Regions from separate parts of the Homo sapiens genome. Here regions 1 and 3 are each linked to region 2. Evidence: promoter capture Hi-C in human tissues and cell types (Jung and others, 2019). All regions are on one chromosome and are shown on one strand. The core of a region is centred on a gene start or on the middle of the fragment in contact, and the rest is flanking DNA. Distances in the headings are between cores, read along the strand shown.

What was found. The method cuts DNA at HindIII sites, captures the fragments that hold promoters and counts their contacts. A contact is called where the count stands out against the background at its distance.
Region 1: a contact is called between a fragment that was not itself captured here and the fragment with the promoter of SERPINE2 in region 2, in 3 of the 25 tissues and cell types used here (H1 embryonic stem cells, heart right ventricle and small bowel).
Region 3: a contact is called between a fragment that was not itself captured here and the fragment with the promoter of SERPINE2 in region 2, in 1 of the 25 tissues and cell types used here (mesendoderm cells).

The regions. Positions count from the first base shown.
Region 1 is chr2:224,232,476-224,237,001 of GRCh38, forward strand. No RefSeq gene overlaps it. Among named protein-coding and RNA genes, the nearest start is that of FAM124B, 170 kb to the right of the region's middle. The HindIII fragment of the contact is 4,499 bases long and covers 1-4,221 here.
Region 2 is chr2:224,037,856-224,042,382 of GRCh38, forward strand. It overlaps SERPINE2 (serpin family E member 2), which reads right to left and starts at 1,431. Exons shown (of 9, transcript NM_001136528.2): 1 at 1,244-1,431. It overlaps LOC124907991 (a long non-coding RNA gene), which reads left to right and starts at 1,547. Exons shown (of 2, transcript XR_007088103.1): 1 at 1,547-1,687; 2 at 3,863-4,527. RefSeq lists a silencer at 1,597-1,891. The HindIII fragment of the contact is 16,007 bases long and covers 1-4,527 here.
Region 3 is chr2:224,212,865-224,217,061 of GRCh38, forward strand. No RefSeq gene overlaps it. Among named protein-coding and RNA genes, the nearest start is that of SERPINE2, 180 kb to the left of the region's middle. RefSeq lists enhancers at 1,109-1,886, 1,887-2,663, 2,664-3,441. The HindIII fragment of the contact is 5,701 bases long and covers 1-4,197 here.

The DNA of each region.
Region 1 (4,526 bases), core at 722-3,221, 200 kb after region 2:
GTATACGACTAGCCAGTTATCCTAGCACCATTTATTGAATCCTTTCCCCAATGCTTGTTATTGTTGACTTTGTCAAAGATCAGCCAGTTAGAGGTGTGTGACTTTCTGTTTTCTCTGTCTTGTTCTATTGGTCTGTTTTTGTACTAGTACCATGATGTTTTGGTTATTGTAGCCTTGTAGTATAGTTTGAAATCAGGTAGTGTGGTGGCTCCAAATTTTTTATTTTTGCTTAGGATTGCCTTGGATATTTGGGCTTTTTTGGTTCCATTAAAATTTTAGAATAGTTTTATCTAATTCTATGAATATGTCATTGGTAGTTTGATGGGAATAGCATTGAATCTTTAAATTGCTTTGAGTAGTATGGCCATTTTAACAACATTGATTTTTTCGATGAATGAACATGGAATATTTTTCCATTTATTCATGTCATCCCAGATTTCTTTCAGTATGTTTTATAATTCTCATTGTAGAGATCTTTCACCTCCTTGGTAAGCTGTATTCCTAGGTATTTTATATTTTTGTGGCTACTGTGAATGGGTTAGCATTCTTGATTTGGCTCTGAGCTTGAATGTCATTGGTGTATAGAAATCCTACTGATTGGGCCGGGCACAGTGGCTCATACCTATAATCCCAGCACTTTGGGAGGCCAAAGGGGGCAGATCACCTGAGGTCAGAAGTTCGAGACCAGCCTGACCAACATGGAGAAACCCCGTCTCTACTAAAAAGACAGAAAAAAAATAGCCAGGCATGGTGGCACATGCCTGTAATCCCACCTACTTGGGAGGATGAAGCAGAAGAATCCCTTGAACCCAGGAGGCGGAGGTTGCAGTGAGCCGAGATCTCGCCATTGCACTCCAGCCTGGGCAACAGAGTGAAACTCCATCTCAAAAAAGAAAGAAAAGAAAAGAAAAAAAAGAAATCCTACTGATTTTTACATATTGATTGTGTATCCAGAAATTTTACTGAAGTTGTTTATCAGTTTTATAAGCTTTCTGGTGGAGTCTGCAGGGTTTTCTAGGTATAGAATCATATCATCTGCAAAGATAGTTTGACTTCCTCTCTTCCTACTTGGATGCCTTTCATTTCTTTCTTTTGTCTGTTCTGGCTAGGACTTTCAAGTACTATGTTGAATAGGAGTGGTGAGAAAGGGCATCCTTGTCTTGTTCCAGTTCTCAAAGGGAATGCTTCCAGCTTTTGCCATTCCCCCAGTATTATTTTACATCTCATAATAGTCTCTGAGTATGATGTTAGCTGTGGGTTTGTCATAGATGGCTCTTACTATTTTGAGGTATGTTCCTTTGATGCCTAATTTGTTGAGGGTTTTTAACATAAATGGATGTTGAATTTTATTGAAAGCCTTTTTGCATCTTTTGAGATGATCATGTGATCTTTGTTTTTAATTCTCTTTATATGGTGAATCACACTGGTTTGTGTGTGTCGAACCAACCTTGCATCCCAGGGATAAAGCCTACTTGATTGTGGTGAATTAACTATTTGATATGCTGCTGGATTTGGTTTGCTAGTATTTTGTTAAAGATTTTTGCATCTATGTTCATCAGAGATATTGGCCTGAAGGTTTCTTTTTTCGTTATGTCTCTACCAAGCTTTGGTATTAGAATGATGCTGGCTTCATAGAATAAGTTAGGGAAGAGTTCTTCCCCCTCAATTTTTTTGAATAGTTTTAGTAGGATTGGTACTAGCTCCTTGTATGTCTGGCAGAATTCAGTTGTGAATCCGTCTGGCTCAGGGCTTTTTTGTTTGGTAGGCCTTTTATTACAGATTCAGTTTCAAAATTTACTATTGATCTGTTCAGGATTTTAATTTCTTCCTGGTTCGATCTTGGGAGACTGTGTGTTTACAGAAATTTGTCCATTTCTTTTAGGTGTTCTAGTTTGTGTGCATAGGGGTGTTTATAATAATCTCTGAGGATCTTTTGTATTTTTGGGGGGTCAGTTGTAAAGTTGTCTTTGCCATTTCTGATAGTGTTTATGTAGATCTCCTCTGTTTTTTCTTTATTAATATAGCTAGTGGTCTATCAATGTTGTTTACTCTTTTGAATGGCTAACTTTTGGTTTTGTTGAGCTTTTGTATCTATTTTTACATCTCAGTTTCATTCAGTTTAGTTATGATTTTTTTTTTTCTGCTGCTAGTTTTGGGATTGGTTTGCTCTTGGTTTGCTAGTTACTCTAGGTGTGATGTTAGGTTGCTAATTTGAGATCTTTCTAACTTCTTGATGTAAGTGTTTAGCACTATAAACTTTCCTCTTAGCACCATTTTAGTCGTGTCCCAAAGATTCTGGTATGTTGTGTGTCTGTTTTCATTAGATTCAAAGAATTTTTTAAAATTCTGCCTTAATTGTATTCTGAAAAGTCATTCAGGAGCAAGTTGTTTAACTTCCATGTTATTGTATGGTTTTGATGGATCTTCTTGCTATTGATTTCTATTTTTCTTGTGCCATGGTCTGAGAGTGTGTTTGATACGATTTCTGTTTTTTTGAATTTGTTTAGACTTGCTTTGTAAACAAACTTGTGGTCAGTCTTAGAGTATGTGCTGTGTGCAAATGAGGAGGATGTATATTTTGTTGTGGGGTGGAGTGCTCTGTAGATGTCTATTAGGTTCAATTGGTCATGTCAACTTTAAGCTTAGAATATCTTTGTTAGTTTTCTGCCTCAATGGTCTGTCTAACACTGTCAGTGCAGTGTCAAAGTCCTGCAGTATTATTGTGCGGTTGACTAAATCTCTTCATAAATCTCTAAGAACTTGTTTTATAAATCTGGGTGCTGCAATGTTGGGTACATATATATTTAGAATCATTAAGTGTTCTTGTTGGACTAAGTTGGGCCTTACTTTTTAATCCTATCTGACAATCTCTGCCTCTTCATTCTGGTGCTATACCACCTACATTTAATATTATGATTGATATAGTTGAGGTTTGAATCTACCATCTTGCACTTGTTTTCTATTTTTTCCTTCTGTCATTTTTCCTCTTTTTCCTCTCTTCTATTGCACTCATTATTTCTAACGATTCAATTTAATCCCCTTTGTTGGCTTATTAGCTGTAACTTTCTTGTGTTGTTACAGTAATTGTTTTAAGATTTATAGTATACGTCCTTTACTTCACATATTGTATGAGAAATTTAGAATATTTCTCCCCTCCTGGCCTTTGTGCTATCTTTGTCATACATTTTTCTCCTATGTATATAACATATAACAGCTTCACATATATTGTTATTATTTTATTATTTTTTCTCTAGACAGTTATTTTTATTTATTTTTTATTTTTTGAGATGGAGTCTCGCTCCCTCCCCAGGCTGGAGTGCAGTGGCGCCATCTTGTCTCACTGCAACCTCCGCCTCCCGGGTTCAAGCGATTCTCCTGCCTCAGCCTCTCAAGTAGCTGGAATTATAGGCAGGCGCCACCATGCCTGGCTAATTTTTGTATTTTTAGTAGAGATGGGGTTTCACCATGTTGGCCAGGATGGTCTCAATCTCTTGATCTTGTGATCCATCCGCCTCGGCCTCCCAAAGCTCTGGGATTATAGGCATGAGCCATGCGCCCAGCCAACAATTATCTTTTAAAAAGTCTTCAATAATTTAAAAATGACTTTCATCTTCATTCTCATAAATATTGGATTTAGTGTTCTTTTGTTACCATTTTTAGTGTTCTTTGTTTACATTTTTTTATTCAGATCAGATTTTCATTTGGTATCATTTTTATTCTGCGTGAAGGATTGCTTCAACATTTATTTATTGTTGGTCTGCTGGTGATTACTTCTTTCAGTTTTTGTGTCTTAAGATGTTTTTGTTTTGCCTTGATTTTTGGAAGATAATTTCACTGGGTACAGAATTCTAAGTTGACATACTTTTTTCTTTCAGTACATTAAACAAAGTGCACTGTCTTCTGGTTTGAATTGTTTCTGGTGAGAATTTGCCATCATCCTTAACCTTGTTTCTGTTTCTGTTATGTATCTTTTTTCCTCTGGCTGCTGTTAAGATTTATCTTTCTCACTAGTGTTCAGCAATATGGTTATGATGTACCTTACATTTTTCTTCAAGTTATTTTCCTGGGGTTTGCTGAACTTCTCAAATATACATATTTATGGTTTATAACAAATTTGAAAAGTTTTCAGCCATTACTTTTCAAATATTTTTTCTGTGCTCCTCTGTCTCCCACACGGACTCTAATTGTATGTGTGTGTGTATATATATATGTATACACATATGTATATATACACACATATGTATATATATACACACATGTGTATATATACATATGTGTATATATACACATGTGTGTATATATATACATATGTATATATGTATGTATGTGTATATATATACACACACACTTAAACATGTCCCATAGTTCACTTAGACTCTCTTTCATTACATTTTTTTTTCTTATCTCTGTGTTTCATTTGGATAGTTTCTTTGCTATGTTTTCAAATTTACTAATTATTTTAGTCAGCCCAGGTTACTAGGTGGCTTAAACCACAGACATGTATTTCTCACAGTTTTGGAGGCTGG
Region 2 (4,527 bases), core at 181-2,680:
AATTGCCCTGCATGGTACGATATTTTCAAACATTATTTTAACAAAGAATCAAAATTTGGGGGTTAAAAGAAACCTTAGATTACTCAGGTTAGTACCTTCATTTGCATAGCCAAAAATTTTTCTATTGAAATACTGCAAATAGCAAATAAGTACTGATTTAGACCTTCAGATAGTGTTGAAACTGTCTTCAATTTTCGAAGTGTGGTTTAGGATATACAAATTAGCAATGTTGACAATTCTTCCAGTTATCTGTGCTCAAGTTTTGATATAAAATCTTCAAAGTACACAATTATCACATATATTGTTCCACAACAATTCAGACAAATAAACGGCTTCTTGGCTTGAAAGAGGAAGTCACACCTTCGAACACCTTTTTATGCTGATGCTAAATATAAGAACGTCCCCTGCAAAGTAGCCAAAGCAAGACAGCAGCATTCGAGATTTCTCCAGAGACACACACACAAAGAATGTGTTTCGTTCATTAAAACACTAAAACCTTCAACAGCATCTTCCATAATACCTGAAGGTGGAGTGCTGTCTTATGTAATAGAAGCCTTCCTTCCCCGCTCAGTTTGTGGACACATTAAATGCCTAATTCCTTCCAGAATTTCTGAGTACCGTACTTTCATTTTACCTGCAGTCACTCATCCGCCTCGCAACTCCCGTTTCTACAGATGATGAAAATAGCAAAGACCTGCTCGCTCGGGTTAAATCGGCTGCCAGAGGCCAAGTTAAAGGCTTTCCCCACACCGCGCGTCACCTCCCTCTGCCCAGGCAGAGGTAACAAGTAAGAGTGCGCCAGTCTCTCCCCATCCGGCGGCGCGCAGCCTAAGTCCGGGGTAGGGGTTGCCGGCGAGCAGCTGGAAACCTCAGGTTCAGGGTCAGGGCCGGCTCGGATGGCCGGGCAGGAGCCACGCCGGCCCCGGTGCTCCCAGCTGCGGGTATCACTGGACGCCACCCCGGGGCGGCCCCGCCTTGCCCTGCCCGGGTCCCGCTCGGGGCTCCCGGCGGGCGGGACCGGGATGCCCGGCGAGCACCCAGCCCCGGCCAAGGCGGCCCGCGGGAGGCTGAGAAAGTTCTCTGCTCCCCGACGTCGGCGCCCCAGGGTCCCGCTGGCCCCGCAGCTTCCCGGCCGGGCGCAAGGTCAGGGAGCAGGGCCGGTGGCGCGCGGAGCCCCGGGGAGCGTCCCCCGCCGAGGGCAGCGCCGGCCGCGCCCGGGACTCACCGCGCAGCCTGTACTCACCGCGCTCGCTGGATCCCCAGGGGGCGGCCGCGGAGGGCGGTGCGGCCGCAACCGGAGCGGGAGCCTGGTCTCGGCGGCGCGGGGAGTCGGAGGACGCAGCCAAGCGGCGGCGGCGAGGAGGGTCACAGCCGGAAAGAGGCAGCGGTGGCGCCTGCAGACGCCGCGCAGCCCGGGCAGCCCCACAGCGCAAGCTGGCTGCCGCGGCGGCGGGGGCTTTATCGGCGGCGCCGCGCGGGCCCCCGCCCCTTCCTGCCGCCCCCGCCCCCGGCCCGCCTTGCCCCGCCTTCCCGCCGCCTCCTTTGTGTGGCCGCGGGCCGCAGCGTCCCCGCGCCCGGCCTCCAGGACGCCCCCTCTCCGCCTGCGACTTCTCGGATGCCGCCCCGCCAGGGGTCCGTGTCGTGGGGCTGCGCCCGGAACGCGCCGGGGAGACGCGCAGACCCCGAGGTGCGGCGCCAGCCCGGGCCCAGCTGCACGTGGGTCTCCCGGATGGGGGTGTGTGAGGTGGCGGGGGGAATACCAGGGCTCGTACCGCGTCCCTGAGACGCAGGGCATGTCGTCTTGGCTGCCCCCTGGAAGAGACAGAGGGCGCCCTGAGACAGCGCTCAGTCCTCCGGGTGATGGGGAAACGGTGCCAGGACGCGGCCGGGAAGGGGCAGATAACCCCTCGAGGCGTTTTGCAGGGTGTCCTAGAGCTGACTTCTCCCTGCCTAGGGGACAGAGGAACGGCGGCAAGTCGCCTTAGGCAAATACAGACGAGGGGAACCAGAAAACTGGATTCCCGGCTATGGTGATAGCATGAGGTACCCGCAGCGTCCTGGGAACCCAGCCCTTCTCAGCCGGTAACCACTGCTGCTGGGACCCGGTGCGCGATAGACAGGCACATACCCCAGGGGCCTGCAACAAATGACCGTCCCGCTCCGGGCTCTGTTACCTGGACCTCTCTTAGTTGGTTCCTCCTTTGCCTCTAGTTAGGTTTCTGGGGACCCAAGGACCCAACTTTAATGACAGTAATTTATGTAGCCGTTAGTGTAGAATCGTCGCTAGCAGGCAGACGGCCCCAACAGCGAGGAAGAAATGTAAATCTCCCTATACACAGCCCTGGATTAAGGGTACAGCTACTGATGAGAGCCACTTGGAAGATCAGCCTGCAGTCACCCCTTGGCATGCAGGTGGCCGTGCCAGAGTGTGCACGTGTGTGTTGGGGAAGGGGTTGCTCTGAAAAGTGTAAAATCTGGACCAGCCTAAGGGTGTTCTCAGTCTCTCATAGAGGGAAACAGGCTATGGGAGGCTTGGTCCTAAAATAAGGAGCAAACAGTCTACAAAAATGAGCATCTGTTTAATTATTTTACAGTCATACCAAATATTTATATTCAGTTACAGGGTAACTTTCTTATTCTCTGTGCCTGAAATGCTTTTTGTCCCAGGATCTTCTATGTTGTCTGCATCCTTACACTTGAGGTCACAACTCAAATGTCCTCTCCCCTAGGAAGCCTCCCCTGACCACTTGAGATAAAGTCACTTTATCCCCTCTAACCTATGACTTCCTTCATAACCCTCATCATGAATTGATTTTTTTTTTACCTTGTTTCTTGCTAGTTTTCTTCTACTCTCTCTCATTGGAATATACTCCCAGAGACCAGGGAAGAGAAACTAATTTCAATATTGTTTCCAACTCACTCTATCCCTAGTGCCTAGAGCCATACCACACATATAGCAGTTACTCAATAAATTTTGTTGACGAGTGGATGAACTACTAGCCAAGTGACTTTTAGACATGCTAAGAACTGTTTCAGTGACAGTATTGTGCTTGGTCCAGTCAGGGCGGTGTGGGCTGGAGCTGGGAACAATTCAAAGGAGGGGGGAAAGCCCACAGGTGTGAATGAGCTCGTTCAGTGTGTTTGAAAAGCTGGGAGTATCCTCTTCCAGATGGAAGGGAGTCATTCAAGAAACTACTGGAGAAATAACTGGGAAATGTGGGTGAAGCCAGATTATTATGAAAATGTGCCAGAATCCCTGCATCCATTTCTGTCTCAATCACATTTCTAAATTAAAATTTGTAATAGAGGTAATTGTAGGCTGGCATGCAGTTGTTAAGAAATGATTCAGAGAGGTCTCTTTTACACTTTGCCAAGTCTTCCTCATGGTAACATTTTGCAAAACCATTGTATAATATCACAATCAGGATATTAACATTGATACGTTGATTCCTATCTCACACACTTTGGTTAATTATGTGTAACTTTAAATTTTTACTAAAGTTACTCAAACCAGTGAGAGAAATGCACAAAATTACTATTTTGAAGAGTTTCAGTCTCTTGTCTTGAAGGAGCCAATGTTTTTCAAGAAAAAACAACAACAAGCCTTTTTTGCTTTCCCAATTAGAGTGTAAATAGGGTCCAAATTCTTCATCTATGAAAGACGTTAGAAGTCCTTAGGACTTACCTCTTTGGGTTACACTTTAATGACTGACATTTACTTCCCCATTCTTTCCTGTAGTGTCGAAGGAACATTTTGAGCAATACTGTACGTGACTTGTCAATTCTGAAATCACAGTGGATGCAGTGCTAACTAATATGCTAAAGTAAGCCTAGACACTAATGTTCCCTTCTCTCTCGCTAGACATGCGATGAGGCCAACGATGAGGTCTCCCAAAGGAAAGTGATTGAAGACAAAGACCCATTCTGCCAGTGGGATATGCTGGGAATACCAACTATACTTGTTACTGAGTGTGCATGGCTGGTGTTGGCCAGCCTTCCTGATGCCAGCAAGAGGAGACAGAAGTAATGACCCAAGCTACACTTTCCATGACACTCAAATGGCCAGGCTCTTTGACACCCACCGTGAGGGGCTGTTCCAAAGATGTTGTGTTCCTACCTCAGTTGGTCCCCACAAGCAGCAGGTTCCTCCTCCAGTATTCTCCAATATTTGACCCTTTTTGAGATGCATTTCTCATAGATGTGTACTTCCAATCCACATTTCCTTCCTACCTCTACCTCGGTTTTGTTTGAGAAATCCAAATCATTTAACACTTCTACCTGCTGTTTCTTTGTGACTTCACATTCACAGTGAAATTTCATTTTGTCCTGCAATTGTGTGGCTTGCCTTAATCCGCAAATAGAGCTTCAAATTGTTTATTCCTTTGACCTGGAGTTTAGCCAGCTCCAGCTAGGCTCTGAGTTTGGCTTTGTGTCCATAAGCCACAGTTGGGAGAAATGCAAGAACTGCCCAAACAGAATAAAACAAATGATCTATTTAGTCTTGTTTCCTCTCTTGGAAGAAGTCCA
Region 3 (4,197 bases), core at 413-2,912, 180 kb after region 2:
TGTTCCCCCCTTAGTGTCCATGTGTTCTCATAATTTAGTTCCCACTTGTGAGTGAGAACATGTAGTATTTCGTTTTCCATCCATGTGCTAGTTTGCTAAGGATAATGTCCTCCAGCTCCATCCATGTTTCTGCAAAGGACATGATCTCATTCTTTTTTTTATGGCTTCATAGTATTCCATGGTGTGTATACATCACATTTTCTTTATTCAATCTGTCATTGATGGGCATTTAGGTTGATTCCACGTCTTTACTATTGTGAATAATGCTGCAATGAACATACATATGCATGTGTGTTTATGATAGAACAATTTATATTTCTTTGGGTATATCCCCAGTAATGGGATCGCTGGGTTGAATAGTAGTTCTGTTTTTCCAGCTAAAGTTTCTTAACTCTTGTTTTTGTTGATTCTCCAAGGAGGCTAGAAACATTAATAATCTTTAGAATTATTTTTACTTGATTCACTTAAAAATCATAGGCAGATTCCAGCTTACTAAGTGCTAGTTGGCACCAATGTGCTAAGTTTTGCTGCATATTGATTATGGAATCCTGGTTCAATTATTCTTTCCACAACTCTTTGTTAAGAATGTATCATCTGTCAGGTAGAGCTCCAAATGCTGAGAATACGGAAGCAAAAGAAATGCGAAATGCAGACTTAGCCTGCAGAGCTTACATTCTGATAAGGAAGATATCCAATAACAAATGGGCACATCACATTTCACGAGTCATTTGTGCTATGAATAAAGGCATAGATCTTATCAGGTGAGGCCGGCTATTTTAGAGAAGGTCACTAGGAAAGGCCTTATCCAGTAGGTGACTTTTGAGCAAAGACTGTAATAGGCAAGGCAGAGAGTGGTAAGAGATAGGTTGGGGGGATGAGCATGACCAGCCTTGCAGACCATGGCAAAGATTTGGACCTTGAATTTGAGGGAGAATGAAAGGCTTGGCTCTTCGAAGTTGCATGATTTCATGAAGATTTCTCTGGCTATGTGGAGAATCAGCTCTTGGGTAAGATTGCCATGTAAAACTTAGGATGCTCAGTTAAATTTGAATTTCAGATGAACAACAAATAATTTTAGTATAAGCATGTCCCAAATATATCATGGGGCATACTTATACTAAAAACAATTTATTGTGAGGCCAGGACGCCTAAAATAAAATGCTGCAGTCACTAACCAACCTGAGAATAATCCTTGCATGGTTCGCTATTCTCTTGTTTTTCCAATCCGTTTTCTTCCCACTCTCCAGGTAAACTCTTCCAGCCTGATGCTCATGGATTTCTAGTGAAGGTAAGGCTGTGACTTTGGCCAATGACTTTTTCCCCATCTATCTCTCTCTCTTTTTTCTTTTTTTTTAGATGGAGTCTCCCTCTGTTGCCCAGGCTGGAGTGCAGTGGTGCGATCTCAGCTCACTGCAACCTCCACATCCCAGGTTCACGCAATTCTCCAGCCTCAGCCTCCTGAGTAGCTGGGACTACAGGTGTGTGCCACCATACCTGGCTAATTTTTGTATTTTTGGTAAAGACAGGGTTTCACCATGTTGGCCAGACTGGTCTCGAACTCCTGACCTTGAGTGGTCCGCCTGCTTCCCCAAAGTGCTGGAATTACAGGCGTGAGACACCACGCCCAGCCCCATCTATCTCTTTAACAAGCCCCTGTTTACTTCCTCTTTGCACAGTCTCTATCTAGGCTTCTGACTAGTGGCTCTGTCCTTCCTTCATGACATGCTAGCATCTCAGAGTATTGCGATTGTACTCCTATCCCCAAGGCAATGCTGCTGGAACTTTGTGAGGACACACACACACGCACAGACACACACAGAGAGAGAGAGAGGGAGACTGAAAGAGAAATTGGGCTGCTAGTCATTGTTTCCTAAGCACCCAGGACTAAGGACTAACCTGCTAAGTGTACTTGGGTACACTTAGTCAGACCATGACTCTCTCCCTGATCAGTATTAGCTATGAGAGCAAGATGATCCTCTACCCAATAGCAACATGCATTGATAAATCAGGTATCACAAACACTTGCAGACAATGAAGGCTCATTCTTGACACTACACGTCAAAGATGGAGAGCCAAGCAGTAGTTTTTAATGAGAAATGTGAGAGGCAATTTTCTGTTTCTTAGCATTTAAGAAAACCAGAAATTACAGACAGTTGAAGAACTAAAGCTGGTTTCCTAGTATAATGTATTAGTAGGCTCAGGCCACCGTAATGAATTCTCACAGATGGAGTGATTTAAACACCAAAAATTTGTTTTCTCAGTTCTGGAGGCTGAAGCCCAAGATCAAGGTGTGGGAAGGACTGGTTTCTTCTAAGGCCTGTCTCCCTGACTTGCAGATGTTTCTCTCTTTCCTCATGTGGTCTTTCCTCTTTGTGCACGCATCCCTGTTGGTCCCTGGTGTCCAAATTGCCTTTTCTTATAGGGACACCAGCCATATCAGATTAGGGCCTACCCTAATGGGATCATCTTAATAATCTCTTTAAAGACCCATTTCTAATACACAGGAGTCACACTCGGAGGCACTGGAGGCTAGGGCTTCAATACATGTATCTTGAAGGGACACAATTCAACTCATAACAAGTGAGGATACACTTATAATGACAGTTGGAGTCCCCAGCAGCTGAGGGACTGAAAAACCAAATTGGATTCCCGGAACAGCAGAATAACAGGGCTCTCTACTAGTGGTCAGGATGAGAAACAAATGAATGGAACACAGGGTCAGATACTCACCTGGGCCTAGCAGCCCTCCGGTCTCAAATGTGAAATATCTGTTTTCTCAGTGGATGAGCAGTCACCTGCTCTTTTCTCATGGGGAGTCAACTAGTCCATTTCCGTGTGATGAGACCACCAGACAGGCTTTGTGTGAGCAATAAAGCTTTTGAATCACCTGGGTGCAGGCAGGCTGAGTCTGAAAAGAGAGTCAGCGAAGGGAGATAGGGGCAGGGCTGTTTTATAAGATTTGGGTGGGTAGTGGAAGATTACAGTCAAAGGGGGTTGTTCTCTGGCTAGCAGGGGTGGGGGGTCACAAGGTGCTCAGTGGGGGAGCTTTTGAGCCAGGATGAGCCAGGAGAAGGAATTTCACAAGGTAATGTCATCAGTTAAGGCAGGGACTGGCCATTTTCACTTCTTTTGTGGTGGAATGTCATCAGTTAAGGCAGGAACAGACTATTTTCACTTCTTTTGTGATTCTTCAGTTACTTCAGGCCATCTGGATGTATACGTGCAGGTCACAGGGGATATGATGGCTTAGATTGGGCTCAGAGGCCTGACAGTCCATAAGGAATATAGAAAGATTAGGAAAGCGTGTATAACACATAATTCAAAATTTAATTCTAAAAACCCCCCGATCTGTAAAGTTTGACAATCATCAACCATAGACTATGTTAAAAGGGTTTGAAGTGGTTTTATGACATGGCAAGGGGCATAATAAGCCTTTTGATAATGGGAGAGTAGTAAGCACAGAAGAAAAATTTGGAAACCACTATCCAGACTAGTGATTTTAAAACTGTTCAAATGATATTAATCTGATGGCAGAGGAGAGCAAACCCTGGCTGAGATAAGAATGCCTCAGTCAGCTTGGGCTGCCACAGCAAAATACCATCAACTGGGTTGGTGCAGACATTTATTTCTCACTGTTATGGAGCTGGAAGTCCAAGATCAAGGTGCCTGGTCAGGTCCTGGTGATGGACCTCTTCCAGGTAGCAGTCAGCTGACTTCTTGCTGGTTCCTCCCATGCTGGAGAGATAGAAAGCTCCAGACTCTTCCTCTTCTTTATTTTATTTTATTTATTTATTATTATTATTTTTTATTTTAGACAGAGTCTTGTTCTATTGCCCAGGCTGAAGTGCAGTGGCATGATCTCAGCTCATTGCAACCTCTGTCTCCCAAGTTCAAGTGATTCTCCTGCCTCAGCCTCCCGAGTAGCTGGGATTACAGGCACACACCATCACGCCCAGCTAATTTTTGTATTTTTAGTAGAGACGGGGTTTCACCATCTTGGCCAGGCTAGTCTTGAACTCCTGACTTCAGGTGATCCACCCACCTCGGCCTCCCAAAGTGCTGGGATTACAGGTGTGAGCCACGGCACCCAGCCTCTTCCTCTTCTTACAAGGACACTAATCCCATTAAGGGGGCTTCCCCCTCATGACTTCATCTAAACCTAGGCACCTCCCCAAAGCCCCACCTCCAAATACCATC